2 separate regions of the Homo sapiens genome follow, and region 2 is linked to region 1. The links are contacts of gene promoters, found by promoter capture Hi-C in blood cells and fetal thymus (Javierre and others, 2016). All regions are on one chromosome and are shown on one strand. Each heading gives the region's core, a stretch centred on a gene start or on the middle of the fragment in contact. The rest is flanking DNA. Distances are from core to core; before and after follow the strand shown.

Region 1 (6,754 bases), core at 4,255-6,754:
TAATTGACCATAAATATATGAGTTTATTTCTGTACTCTCAATTCTATTCCATTGATCTATCTATCTATCCTTATGCCAATACCACACAGTCTTGATTATTGTAGTGTGGTAGTTAGTTTTGAAATTGGGAAGCGTGAGTCCTCCAGCTTTACTCTCCTTCTTCAATACTGTTGTGAGTTTTCTGGGTCCCTTGCATTTCATAATGTATCTTTAAGTAGTCCTGTCCAGGAGGTGTTTTCAGTAGCTACTAACTGTGCCTGGTACTACCCGGGACCTATAAATTGGCATAGAAATGTAAAGCAGGGTCTTGTTAGTACACAGAAAAAAATAGTTATATTGGAGGGAAGGTGATGATTTTTTAATTTCCAGTCATCTTCGATGTAGCTTATGTAAAATAAATGTATTAACTAAATATTATTCTGTAATTGCAAAAAAAGTTGCATCTGTTTTTGTTGGCATACTGAATGCTTCCAAATAAATGTAACTTATTTTAAATCATTATATAGGTGTGCCGTGCAGTTAATAAAAATATGAAGCTTTTTTCTGTATTTTTAAATATTTGTAGTATATGTCAGCTTCTTAAAATTTATATTTGGTCTTGAGTCCTTTTCTAAGTCTAAATAAATATTCACTTTTGTATCCAACTTTGTATTCTTTTTTGCTTTCTTTTTTTAAAAGAGTGACCCCCAAAACTTCCAGGCTTCAGGCCCTACACACCCTGGACCCACCTCTGCATACTGACCATGCTCACCTGCAGGCTGACACATCCACAGGTGTACATACAAGAGAACTTGCCAGGCTCTCCCTATCAGAGGAGCCGCAGAGGGAAGACCTTTAGGGTAGCCACGAGTCTCCAGCTGCTTCTGGGAGGAGAACTCAGTGTCCTCTGCACAGTCCTGCTGTGAACATGCTTGCAGGAGGGCCTGTACCCACCCAGCCTCCTTACATATATGCACACCTGACCATGTTCACCACAGCCATCATCTCATCTCACACTTCCGCACCTCCCTCCCACAGCCTGCAGGGAGAGGCATCCAGGCCCAGGGAGGGCTAATGCTCTGTCCCCAGGGCCACACTGACACCCTAAGGGACATTGCTGAAGGATGGTAGGAGTCCATGAGGGGGAGGGGGTGTAAGGGCTGGTCACAGAGGGATGAGAAGTGGGCTAGGGAGCCCGAGGGAAGGGAGAAAAGGGAAGAAGAGGAAATGAGGTACCATGTCATTTAATCCTTACCAGACATTGGTCCCTTTATGGATAATGAGGAAATAGAAGCCTAGAGAGGGAATGGGACTAGTTGACGCAGCTAGTGAATAGCAAAAATGGGATTTGTAACCAAGTCTGTCTACATCAGTGGTTCTCTCAACCGGAAGAAATTTTACCTCCCAGGGTACATTTGGCAGTGTCTGTAGACCTTTTTGGTGATCACTGCTAGGGAAGAGGCTTCTACCGACACCTAGTGGACAGAGGCCTGCTAAATATCCTGCAATGCACAGTACAGCACCCGGCCCCAACCCTGGCAAAGGATTACATCTGAGCCAAGATGTCAACAGTGCAGAAGTTGAGAAACCCTGGTCTAGACACCTTCCAAGAGTATTCTTCACCTTGGCCCCTTTCTGGACTTCCCATGGCCTAAGCCATGTTGGTGCCCCTGCCCCAGAGTTTCCAAGAAGGAACAGCTAGCTGTATACCTCGCTGCAGCTCAGCCCAGGTTACCAGGGTCACTGCTCAACCTACAGATCTGTGGCCAAGGTCGCCAATTTCCCACTACGGCATCTCTGGATTCAATCTTCCCTGACCATTGGAGGCAGGCGGTATGGTCTAGGGAGGGGATGTCTGCCACCCCCACGGCTTACCATCAGAGCAGGGTTACTATCCTCAAAGCCTTCTCGGTCAATACCCAGCTTAGGTTAGTTCCCAGCCATGGCCACAAGATGGCACCCCAGCCCACCAGGAGGGCTGAGGCTCTGGGCCTGGGAGAGCAGCATGGAGGATGTGCCAACCTGGACAAAAGCCTAGGGGCTGGACTTGGGCCAGTTCCAGAGCTTAGCAGGACCAGATCTAAGGCCTGCAAGTGCCAGGTGGGAAAACATAGGCCAAACTTGGCTTCAGAACTCCCTTCACCTTTTTTTTAGTCCACTCCCAACACCAGCTTATATTCTAGCCTTTCCTACATGAAGCTTACTGAAGCCCAGCAATCCCTCCTTGGGCCTAAACAAGAGAAATTCTAGAACTTAGATGTTAAGGATACAGGAGTTATTATTATTATTTCAATACAACAGTAAAAGCAAAAAACGAGGCACAGAGAAGTTGAGTAACTTGCCCAAGGTCACAGCTAGTCAGTACTGGAGCTGGGATTTGAATCCAGGCAGTCTGGTTTTAAAGTCTGTGCTCTTAGCCACTGAACATACCACACCACAACTGCTCCCACCCCCACCAGCCCCAGCTACCAAAGACCCTCTGGCACCAGACCACAAGCTTTCTTCTGCAAGGGAGGGGCAAATGGCTGCGAATAGGAGGTGCTGCTCCAAAGTGGAAAAGGAGTGAGGTTTTCAGTCTAGCTGGGGGTCTGTCGTTAGTGTTTGCGAGTGAGAAGCTAGGGAATGGTTAGTCATTCTTCCTCCTATTTCCCCCCAAAACCCTCTGTTTCTCTGTTTTCTGGTTTTTGGTTTTTGTTGATTTCTTCTGTGTTGCCCTCTTGGTTTTCCTAGGCTGTTTGCAAATGCTAGCATTCTCGCAGTGTGAAGGGGAAGTGAGAGAAGAAAGTTTGATGTCCTGTTCAGGATCCACAAGGGAGGCCATTCTTTGGGGCCTGGGCTGGGGGTGTGTCATCAGGGATCAAAGTGAGAATCCTAAAGTGGAACAGTGTGGGGCACATTGGGAACAGCTACCCTCTCCTGCTGGGGAGGCTCCTGTGTCTGAGTTTTCTCTGCTTACCTCTTGGGGGATTTTAGGGTGTAATGGGCTTTAGGGTGCAATGAATACCCTTTCACATTCCTTCTGCCTCCAACCCTGGCCTACCTCCCTCTTTCTAACACATCGTCCAGAGCCCCTAATCACCCAACCTTCTGCCTACCAGGAGCCCCTTGTTTCTCTCTGTCTCTCTGTGCCCCCTCCCCAACTGCCTGGGTCACACTGCAGCCCCCTATTAGGACTCGCCATGGCGTAGTGATGGGGCCCTGCACTGATTCCCTAAAAAACCCTGGGTAAGTCCCTCCTCCTGACTTGGTCTCCATTAGGTGTTCCAGACTCCCACAGTCTCTGCCACTTGGGTTCTAGGATCCCAGCCTCTCTCCTAGCCTTTCTCAAATCATCTGGACCTTAGTGAGGATCTACTGTATTCTGGGCACTCTGGAGGGAAGCAAACAAGAAGCCCTGGAGGAGCTGATGGTCCTTTTATGGAGATCAGATGAGCTATGGAGAAGATCAGGAGCCATACTCTGATCCCGTGTGGTTCTGCAGGTGAAGAGAGAGGTGAAGTCCTGGAACCCTATGGCTAGTAGAATCCCAGAAGATTCTTGGGTGAGAAGAGGGGCTGGACATCTGGGTAGAAAGAAAGGAAGGTTTGGAGAGGCTGCTTTCTTGTCTCTCCCCATCTTGATTTCTCCCAGCTGTGTGTGTGTGTGTGTGTGTGTGTGTGTGTGTGTGTGTGTGTGTGTGTATGTGTCTGCCTCTGTGTCCACCTTTTTCTCTTCCTTCTGGATTCTCCATTTCTATTTCATCTTCTACCAATGTTGGGACAGAATTTCCTGAGAACCCATGTCCCGGGGATCTGAATATGGGCCAGGATGGGCCACACCAGGCCGGGCCACACCAGGCCAGGCTTCCTTGTGGTTAGGAGATGGGGACTCACACTGGTCAGGGTGAAAGGGACACTCAAAATCACTCTCATCCCTGCATTACTCTGAGATTGAAGGGGAAACAGCTCCTATTTAGAGGAATCACACAGATCAATATCTGGAGGGAGGAGGTGCCATGCAGGCCCCAAAATCCAACCCTCTCTTTGTCTCTGCCCAACTCTGCCCATTTCTGACTTAATTTAGCCTCTCTGTCTCTCCCCTTGTCCTATTCCCATCTGTCAATCCTTGCCCTGCCCCTCTCCACCCCTTCAAGCCTTTTACCCACCACACACAGATTTTCCTGTGGCTAGATTGGGATTCCCCTGGCCAAGTAAGGAGAGCGATGTCTGTGGCACAGCTTTGTCCCCAGGCTCACAACGGCATCTGTGGGTCAGGGTAGAGGGACAGCTGTCTGCACAGTTAGAAAGTGCCAGCAGTAATAAAAGCCTCATATCTTCTTAATTAAATCGCCCTTTGCCCAGGCATCCTGTGTTCGATTGGGTTGAGCTGGGATCAATAAGCCTCTTTCCCACCCCAGCCACCCCTGGAGACGGGCCTGACCTCCCCAGTCCTGCCTAGGCCCACCTGGCCACCTCCCCAGAAGGCTGGGAGCTTCTCAAGGCCAGAGGCTGGGTCAGATTCATCTCTTGTGTCCTTGTGCCTGGGACGGATCCTGAAACAAGTAAGGAGTAAAGGAGTGATTGCTTTACTGAGTAAACCAAGGCACTAGCAGCAGGCATGGGCCAGGAAGGCTTTGAGGTTCAAACTGGAACTCCCACCCCCAGGACCAACTGTGAAGATGGAGGAATCACAGCAAGCAGCAGCTCCCACCCAGCTCCCAGACATAACACCAGCTTATCACCCAGGGCAGTTGAAGCCCTAGGAAGTGCGGGGTGGGGGTGTCAGTGCTCAGGGAAACTACGAGCAGTTGCTGCTTCTGACCTCTGAGGGCAGAAGGTCCTTTTCATAAGGGGTCTCCACCTAGGGATCCAGGGTTAGTGTGGGAGAGTCCGTGAGCTTGGATGGATGTGGCACTCATGGGAGACTCCCTCTGTCTGAAGCTATAAAGGGCCCAGGGTCAGTAAGGAGTCCAAAGGGGTTAATAGGGGTCCAGGATTGATTGTTAGTGGAGGGCGTAGAGGATAACGTGGTGTGTGTGTGTGTGTGTGTGTGTTGGGGTTCATGCAAGACATTACCCATGGAAGGAACATGGGGCCTCCAGGTTCCGCGAGAAGGGTCGGTATTAAAGGATTCCTTGGAGCGGTCAGCACTGGTCCGGGCCAGGGTGTCTCTGATGACAAAACTCCGGGAGAGCTTTGTCTCACCAGGGATCAGATGGTCCCTGGTTTGGAAGGCAAGGGGAGGGTGCCAACGCCCTTCTCACCTCAGTCTGACCCGGGGGCGCGGGCCCAGACGTCTCTCGGAGCCCCCGCCCCTGGAGTGGCGTTCCCCGAGGGCGGACCGTGGGCGGGTCCCCCGGGAGCAGCAGGAGCCGCGCGGGGCGGGCGCCCCCAGCGCCGAGGTTGAGGGAGGCCGGGCTCGGTGCGGGGCTGGGAGGGGGGCGCGGAATCAGGGCTTTTTAGGACCCAGCGCGGCGCCTTCCTCCGGGGGCGAGTGCGGCTGCGCGCGCCGTGTGCCCGTGTCCGGAGAGCGGCGGGCTGGACGCGGACCGCGCGAACGAGCAGGCGACGGGCGAGCAGCAAGCGGAGCAGCAGCCCGGGCGGCAGCAGCGTCGCGGCGGCGGCGGCAGCGGCCGCTCCGCGCCTCGCCTCACCGGCCTCGCTGGCCTCACCTCGCCGCGCCCGGACCCGCCACCCCCGCCTCCCCGCCCGACCTCCGCAGCCCCCGTCTCGGCCGGCAGCGCCCACCGCCTGCCCGAAGCGAGGAGCGGAGTGCGGGGCGCAGAGGCACCGGAGCCAGTGCCCGCCGGCCCCGCAAATCAAACCCAGCCAGGAGAACCCCCGCCTGGCCCCGTGCAGCTCCGCGACCGCCGGGAGCTGTCCCTTCAGCACCGCCGCGGGAGCCCAAGTCCGAGCGCAGCCCAGCGGAACCCCAGCTCGAGCCCGGGCTCACGGAGAGCAGCGCTCGGCGTTAGCCGCACGAGCAACACCCCGGGTGCCCCTGCCCAGGGGGCCCGCCATCTCCTCCAGGAGGCGGGGAGAAGGAACGAGGAGGGCGGGCGGGCAGGCGGGCCCGCCGCCGGGGGGAGCAGGCAGCCAAGCAAGGAGAGAGGGAGGGGGCCGGAGCCCGCCCTGCGTCCCGAGCTGCAGCCCGGCCACGCAGGGAGGAAGGCAGGCGGCATCCATCTCCCCCGCGCCGAGAGCGCGCCGCGGCGACCACCTCACAGAGGAGCGCGAATTTCCCGGCCCTGTCTCCTCCCCTCCCCCTCCTGGGGGCTGGCCTCTAGTCCGGCCCCGGGAGCGGCTGACCTTTCCCCCAAAAGCTTTGTGCCGATTTCTCCATTTTCCCGCGGAGATGGGGACGGGAGCCCGGCCCCCCAACCCATTTTCCCCACCTCCCGGGGCTCGCTGCTGAGCCCGCCCCCCTCCCTCTTTCCCCCTCACTCCCTCCCTCCCTCCCTTTCTCCCTCCCTTTCTCCCTCCCTTCTTTCCTCCTCTGCCTCCTCCGCTGCCGGACCAGCTCCCTCCCACATCTGGCTCCTAGAGACCCCTGGGATCCCGCGCACATTCCCCTGGACCGGCACCCGACAAAGCGCCCGGAGAGGCTTGGCTCGCTCGTTGGGGTGGCCAGAGCCGCAGGCCTCTGTTCCCCCCGACGGCTGGGGGGAGGGGGGAAGAGGGCGCGCGCCCCCCTCCCCGGCGCCAACTCCCCCTGGCGGCCGCTCCCATGGGTGTCGCTGGGCCGCGCCATGCCTAAGGGGGCGCCGCGATGGGCCAAGGGGACGAGAGCGAGCGCA
Region 2 (7,180 bases), core at 3,614-6,113, 190 kb after region 1:
CCTCCCCCAGGATAAGTTAGTTCCCAGCACTCTGCTGCCATAGCACCCTGGACACCCTCATCATTGCACTCAGCATCCTGGACTGACACTATGACTTACCTGTCTCACCTGCTACATCACAAGCTCCTTGATGGAAGAGACTGTGTCATACTGAACTTTATATCTACAGCCATCTAGCATAGTGCGTGGTACAATTCCCAGGCCTACCAATTACTAGCTTTGCCAAGTCATTTAAACTCTCTAAGCCTCAATTTCCTAGTCTGTAGAGTGAAGATGATAATAATCTCTACACCCAAGGAGGAAGAAATGAGTGAACTTATCTAAAGCCCTTACTTATCCCAATCCCTGACTGAGAGTCAATACTCAAAAAGGGTTAGCTAGTGAATGAATTTGGGGCAATGAATTTGAGGTAAGAGGGAGAGAAAAACATTCAAACAAATGGTTCTGGAATTATGTAATAAATAATATAGTAGGAATACATTTGAATTACTCTGAGAGCAGAAAGGAAAGCACCAAATTTTGCCTTGGCATATATAGAAAACTTCACAGAGGAGGTAACACTTGAACTAAAATCTAAAGATCTAAAATCAGGCCAAAGGAAGGCCATGTGTGAAGTCAGAGAGGCAGGAAAGAGAACCTGGTATGTTCAGGAACTGCAAGTCTGGCTATAAGAAGGGTCTGTGCAAAGGAATGGTGGTGACACACAGGGTGAAGAGATGACTTAGAGCCAAAAATTCCCTGCAAGCTCTGCCACAGAGAATGGATTTCTCCTGGAAGATACTGAAAAGCCACTGCAGGGTTTTGAGTAAGAGAGTGAAACATAGAAGCACTGTGGTGGCAGTGTGGAGGGTAGAAAAAAGGGGTAAGACTGGAGACAAACATAGAACAGTGGGGGTGCGGGGGGTGATTTGGGTTGAGAAGAAAAGAATGGAGATGGGGTGGAGAGAGGGGGAAAGTGAAGCTGGCCAGCTCAAGAAGTTAGGTAGAAACTGAGTCTCAGAAAAATTGCAACTGGCCCTTGGCATTCCCCAAGACTTCTTCACATAAAGTGTAGGTCTATGAGTTGTAATAAATCACCTTCCTTCCATGTTTGCTGTCTTACAATTTGTGCAATAGAGGAGCATGAATATGGAAAATTCCAGCTGAAAACTTTGACCGCATGAACAGGCCCAGAGGTCACAGTCACCACTGATGGTTAGATGAAACCATCTACAAACAGGCCTGGGATCCCGGCCAGCAATTTTTTATTCACATGCAAACTTGGGGATGGAGTTCCACCGACAAAATCTTTCAGGTGTACTCTTTTTTTTCTTTTGTTTTTTAAGCCATTTACAGGAACCCAAGGTCCTCCTTGTACTTCAGAGAAATGCTTTGTATTTAATTTGTTCTTAAAGAAAAAACAATAGCCTCTTTGCTCTACATGACTAGGCCACTGGGCACCACGAAAGAGATACAGTAACCCACCAAGTCTCTAAGGTCCCAGAAGTCCATCTGTCTGTCACACACATCACAAGGGCACCACGAAAGAGATACAGTAACCCACCAAGTCTCTAAGGTCCCAGAAGTCCATCTGTCTGTCACACACATCACAAAGACACCACTCATGGCAGAAGAAATACGCTACTGCAGGGTGAAAGGGACTGCATTCTAGAAGCCTTCTGGAGGGCAAAGGAAGGAAGAGAAGAAGAAAAGAAGGGTGAAAAAGGGGGAGGGAGTGTTCAAGACCATACATGACCACTTCTGCTAAACACAAAATAGTTGCCTTTTCTGCTTCTTTCCTTGCTTTCAATCTAATTAGACAGAAAGAGCTAATGAGTAGGCAGCAATGGTGCTTGGTTCAGCTGTTCCAGACCCTAGTGTTTCCTCCTTATTAAAAATAAAGAGACCCAAGGGCTCAATTTGGTAAAAATGCACACAGGGAGGCACATTTCCATCTTACAAAAATGTTTTGCATTAAAAAAACCATATCTGTTTAATAGATACCAAAAATTAAATGTACAATAGCAAGATCCCTGGCAGTATCTGTCTGCATTTTTGGAAGTGTCTTCAAAGACAGGACATTAGAATAAGACTCAAAAGACCTGAATTCCAGTGTCAGCTGTACCATTTACCAGCTGTGTGATCTTGGGCAAAATATGTAACATCTTGAGCCTCAGCTGCCTTACTATCAAATGAGTATAATGCTCTGCCTGTCTCACAGAGTCTGGGGGAAACAATATATTTTGAAAACTATAAAGCACTTTGCTAATACCTACTCAGTCAATAAATATTCACTGAGAGCCTACTAGGTATTAGGCATTGTTTCCCTTCAACTGTTAATGTTATTACCAATATTCCACCCCTTCCAGCTCAGTCATTAGATGTCAGTTTCAAATGCAGACAGGTCTATGGTCTCAAGCCAACCTCTCATTCACCCAGTTTTTTTTTCCCAATTGGGGCATTAGTCACTTGCCTCCATCAGGAGATATCTAACGACATCTCAGCCCTAAGAGGCCCTGAGACATGTTAGTACAAATGATGATGGGGAGAGGAGCCTCTGCCACCTCTGCTACCCTAGAGGGCCTGATCCTAAGAAGCTTCCAGAATCTTACCCTCCACAACCACAGAAGAAGACAGTTCTCACAAGCAGGGCCAGAGGCAGGGAGAGACAGGTAAACAGATGGAAAACCTGCATGGCTAAGTCTTTCCAGTATCAGAGTGCCTGGCTCCACGTCCACACCAGGTGACCTTTACTCCAGCGTACCCCTGTCTTCTATCAGGAAAGATTTCAAGTTTCAGAGGTTAGCAGCTCAGAAGCAGCCTCAGTGTGCTGCCCATTCCTGCCCTGATCTTGTTCCTTGGTTTCCATCACTGGGTATCTGCCTTATTCTAGAAACCATGCCCTCCTTTATGCCAGAGGTTCAGCAAGTGTGACCCTGAATTGATTGTTTCCTCTATCTGAATCCCCACCTAATAAACCGTTTCACCAAGACCAGAGTCCTACCTTGCTATTACTCCAAAAGACTATCTTGATGCAGAATCCACCTGGAGGGCCTCCTGAGACCAGAGCTCTAGGAATTCATCTCCACATCTCCCACTGTGCAGTTCAGTATCTGGCATGTAATGGGCACACAACAAATATTTATAGAATGAAAAGGTTACCCACTGGTCTAGATCACTGCAGACTGTCTGCTCCTATGCCCCTCCCCAACTCACAGGACCTCTTTGACGGATAAACCAACCATCGCCTGTCACCATGTTCTTTGGCTGCTTTGTTGTTCCAACTCCAGGCCCCTGACAGGGTCTCTGGGTCAAACATACCTACTCTATTCCCGGTATGCCCTCTTTGCCACTTAGCACATCCTAAAAGAAAGAGTGCTAAGCAAATTCTGAAGTCTGAAGGCTGCTTCAGTGTCCCAGACACACCTTTTGCTCCTGGATTATGAGGGTTAACCCACACTAGAGACTCATTTGGGGCCATCTGGCAATTTTTGGCACCACCCACTTCCCCTTGTCCAGTGTGGAAGGGACTCAAGTCCTGTTCAACAAGCACTACTGAACACAAAGCCTGGTGTCATAGAGAGGCTCTGCTTAAGATCCCGTGGTAAATGCCTCACTAAAACCTAAGAAAGAAGGGCTTCAGGCAAGTCTAGACTACCAACATACCCGATTTTGGTTCTGTGAGGCTGCTGTAAACATGAAAATGCAAGTAGGAAACCTTATTTCTGCTTCTTTACATTGCTAGATCAGCAGAGGAAAAGCACACATACAACACAGAAGGAAAATGATGACCTGAGTGTTGGTCCTGGTCTCTTCCACTAATTTGCTGTGTGACCTCAGGCAAGTCACTCTCCTTCTTTGGATTTCTGTGTCCTCCTTTGTAAAGTCACAGTCTCAGATGTGATGATCCATTTATAAAGCCCCGTCTATGCCTGACATTTAGCAATTTCCTTGCTACTCAGAACACAGAATTGAAATCATCTGGGAACCTGTTAGAAGTGGAAAGTAGCCCTACTGACTCAGACCTACAGAGCTAGAATCTTCTACATTTTAACAAGATCCCCAAGTGATTGCACACACATTGAAATTTGAGAAACACTGTTGTGCAGCTTCTCAGGAAGATCCAGGCCGACCTGGGGCATGACATCTTCTGCAAGAAGCTGGAAGAAGAAAGAGTCTGTCACAGGACTTTACTGAATGTGATTAGAAGCAGCTGGCTAGTAGTAAGGGCTGAGGAGAAAATGCTGCAAGATCCTTTTAAACTCAGCTGCAATCCATAAAATGTCTCTCAAGTACTTAGAGTCTCTAAATTTGAAGTCTTTAGATAAAATGACTTTAAAAATACTAATTATGCACGGAAGTCTAACCATGAACCAAGCATTAGTGAATCCAAAGCTCCTTCTGTACTGGCATGCTGCCAGCAGGCATGAACAGAAGCTCTAAAATCAGCAAGGAGGTCACCTCTGTAACCACAGCATTTCTCCCGGCCTCACCTGTCTCCTGACTGGTCCTCACCTACAGAACTTCAGTCTCAGTTGGAATCTCACAGACAAGACCACATTGAAAGGAACACTGTCTGAGCCTAGACAGTATGGCAAAGGTGAGAGAGGGCTACAAACTCTGGGGTCACAGACCCACAGAGTCAGTCCATGGAGGAGAAAGGGAAAAAAGGGAGAAGCAGAGTGGAACCAGCACAGACTGAATATTTAGTGGTGAAGACTCCCGCTTCCAAATCCAGGGAGAAGCCAGTTTCTGACTTCTTATCTGTCTCTCCCACAGACTGCAAGCTTTGTGAGGACAGGACTGTAAAACTTGTCTCTAGCTATAGTGGCCTGCACATAGAAGTCATTCAACAAATGTTTTATGAGTGAATGAATGAACGAACCAACCAATGAAAAAAAAACAATAAAGAAACAAGGACCAAAGATCATTCGCTTGGTTTCATCAGTGTCAGTCGAGACTACCCTTCAAACTCGTGAACTAAGCTTACTCCTCAGTCCAAAAGCCAGAACAGAAGACCCCAAGGGGTCTAGGAGATTTAAACCTGAAAAAAAAAGGGACTCAAACTAGCTTGGCATTTTTTTCTGGACCAAGGTATGCTAACAAACAGGCTATTCTAACCTTTTCCAGGTTTTGTAATGTTTTATGCTACTCTTACCAGAATTTCCAGGCAAGAAATTCTTTTCTAGAAACTAGATGCTATTTATATTTTAGTTATTAAATGCAATGTGAAAGTACCTAACACATAATCATCATCTACATTAACATTTGTTGAAACTCAATCTATAGAATTCTATTTCTCTATGTCATAAACTAGGAATTTTGCAAATAGCAGAATTACAGAACACTTTGGACCACCCACTTTTGTGAATATAAAATCACTTAAGTAAGGCAAGCTGACTTTGGTGGAATAGCCTTTATTTTTCATCCACTTACATAACTCGGCATTGTCAAAGTGCACCAATAACTGGTGCTGTCATCTCTCATGCCCCCAAGAAAAAACTCCTTTGGGGCTCTTTCTACATTTATTTTCAATTGCCAGATCCCCAGAGGAAAAAATCAAATCACTGACGCTATTTCAAACTTCATGCTCAAGGCAGCCACTAAGAGGATAATAGGGCAGCTCAGTTTTTGCTCTCTTTGAGACAGGAAGACACCCCATGGCTGTGAAGGAAAGGCAGGACACGTGTGTGGACATTCAAAATATAGCAAGGAAACCCAAAACAACAGAAAGACAAGAGGAGCTGGAGGAAAAAGCTGTTTGGAACTATGAATCATCCCAAGGTAACTTATTATGTTTTTATATAACAAGCAAAATGAGCTTTCAGCATTGCCATTCATTCATTGTTTTAGCCATTCATGCATTTGTTCAGCAAACATTTGTGGGTTCCCATTATATGCCAGGCGCTGTGCTAGGCAGGCAGGCAGCAGAACATCAGCCTACTACTGCTTACTATGTTCCTGCCACTCTAGCCTTCCTTCAGGTCTTTTGCAAGGTTGTTTCATGCTTCAACACAGTTCTCTGTGTAAATGTTTCCTCTTCCAAGAGGTCTTGCCTGATTTATTCCCCCATCCCACCCTGGACTAGATTAGGCTTGTCTGCTCTATATTCCTACAGCATTTCCTTTTTAACATTCTACACATCCATCATTACTTTATAGTCTCAGATAGATGGTAAGCTCCATGTGAGCGGGGACTGCCTCTCCAGTTACGAGCACAGAGGCTAGAATATAGTAGGATTCGATACATATTCACTGAACAAATGAACAAACTGGGATTTATAGCCAAGCTACAGGCTCTGAGAGATATAGCGGAATAAGTGCAGGATTTGGAGCTCAACAGACCCAAATCTGAACCCCAGCTGTACCACTCATTAGCTAGGTTACCTTAAGCAAGTCCCATAATCTCTCTGAGCCTTAGTTCCTCATGTGTGAAACACAGACAAAACTTCATAGAGATGTAGTGAAGATTAAATAACATGATGTGGGTAAAGTAACTGGCACAAAATAGATGCTCAACAAATGTTATCCTCCTACCCACTTCCCAACTTGCCTATAGTTACGAAAGAGTTGACAACACCAAGGCAGGGCCCCAATTCTATCAGAACTTATCAAAACAGGATTCAGGCACAGGAATAAGGGAAGGTCAAAGATAGCATCCCAGATGACATCTTACTGACTCCCAAGCTTTGAACTTGAGCTCCTTCAGTGTGTCTGACCAAGGTACAATACTAGGCCCACGACTAAGCCTACAGATGGAGGATCCAATGGCTGCAGCCATGGGGAGAAGATGGCAGAGACTGAGCCCATTCCTTTTGGCTTTTGAAGCATTTAGACAAAAGCATACAAAACTCCCTTCCCCATCTATGCTGTCCATAGGTAACTTAATGGAATCCAAAGGTCTACAAGTAAGCTTAGTTAGACCAGTGAGGTTAAAGGCAACACAGCACAACAGGAGGACTACACCTAGAATCAGATGACAGGGTTCAAGTCCAAACTCTGCCACCTACTGGATGTGTGATTTGGGACAAGAGTTTCCCTTATTCAGGTCTCATTTCACCATCTGTAAATCGAAGGGATTAGACTAGGATAGTGTCTAAGGGCCCTTACAGTGAGAAAGATCTGAGATGCTAGCTGCATGTCAGTCAGCTGTAATCAGCAGGCAAAAGGAGAACTCTTCAATCACGCACACCACTGAGCTG

Evidence for each region. Contacts are between HindIII fragments. The CHiCAGO score rates a contact against its expected background, and 5 or more counts as called.
Region 2: a fragment that was not itself captured here is called in contact with the fragment with the promoter of KCNC1 in region 1 in 1 of 17 cell types (endothelial precursors); the score reaches 5.0 in endothelial precursors.

Annotation. Positions count from the first base shown.
Region 1 is chr11:17,729,277-17,736,030 of GRCh38, forward strand. KCNC1 (potassium voltage-gated channel subfamily C member 1) reads left to right here and starts at 5,505. Exons shown (of 4, transcript NM_001112741.2): 1 at 5,505-6,754. The coding sequence starts at 6,727. RefSeq lists a silencer at 5,345-5,444. The HindIII fragment of the contact is 3,804 bases long and covers 2,475-6,278 here.
Region 2 is chr11:17,923,755-17,930,934 of GRCh38, forward strand. All of the region lies in intron 9 of SERGEF (secretion regulating guanine nucleotide exchange factor), which reads right to left. Among named protein-coding and RNA genes, the nearest start is that of SERGEF, 86 kb to the right of the region's middle. The HindIII fragment of the contact is 198 bases long and covers 4,765-4,962 here.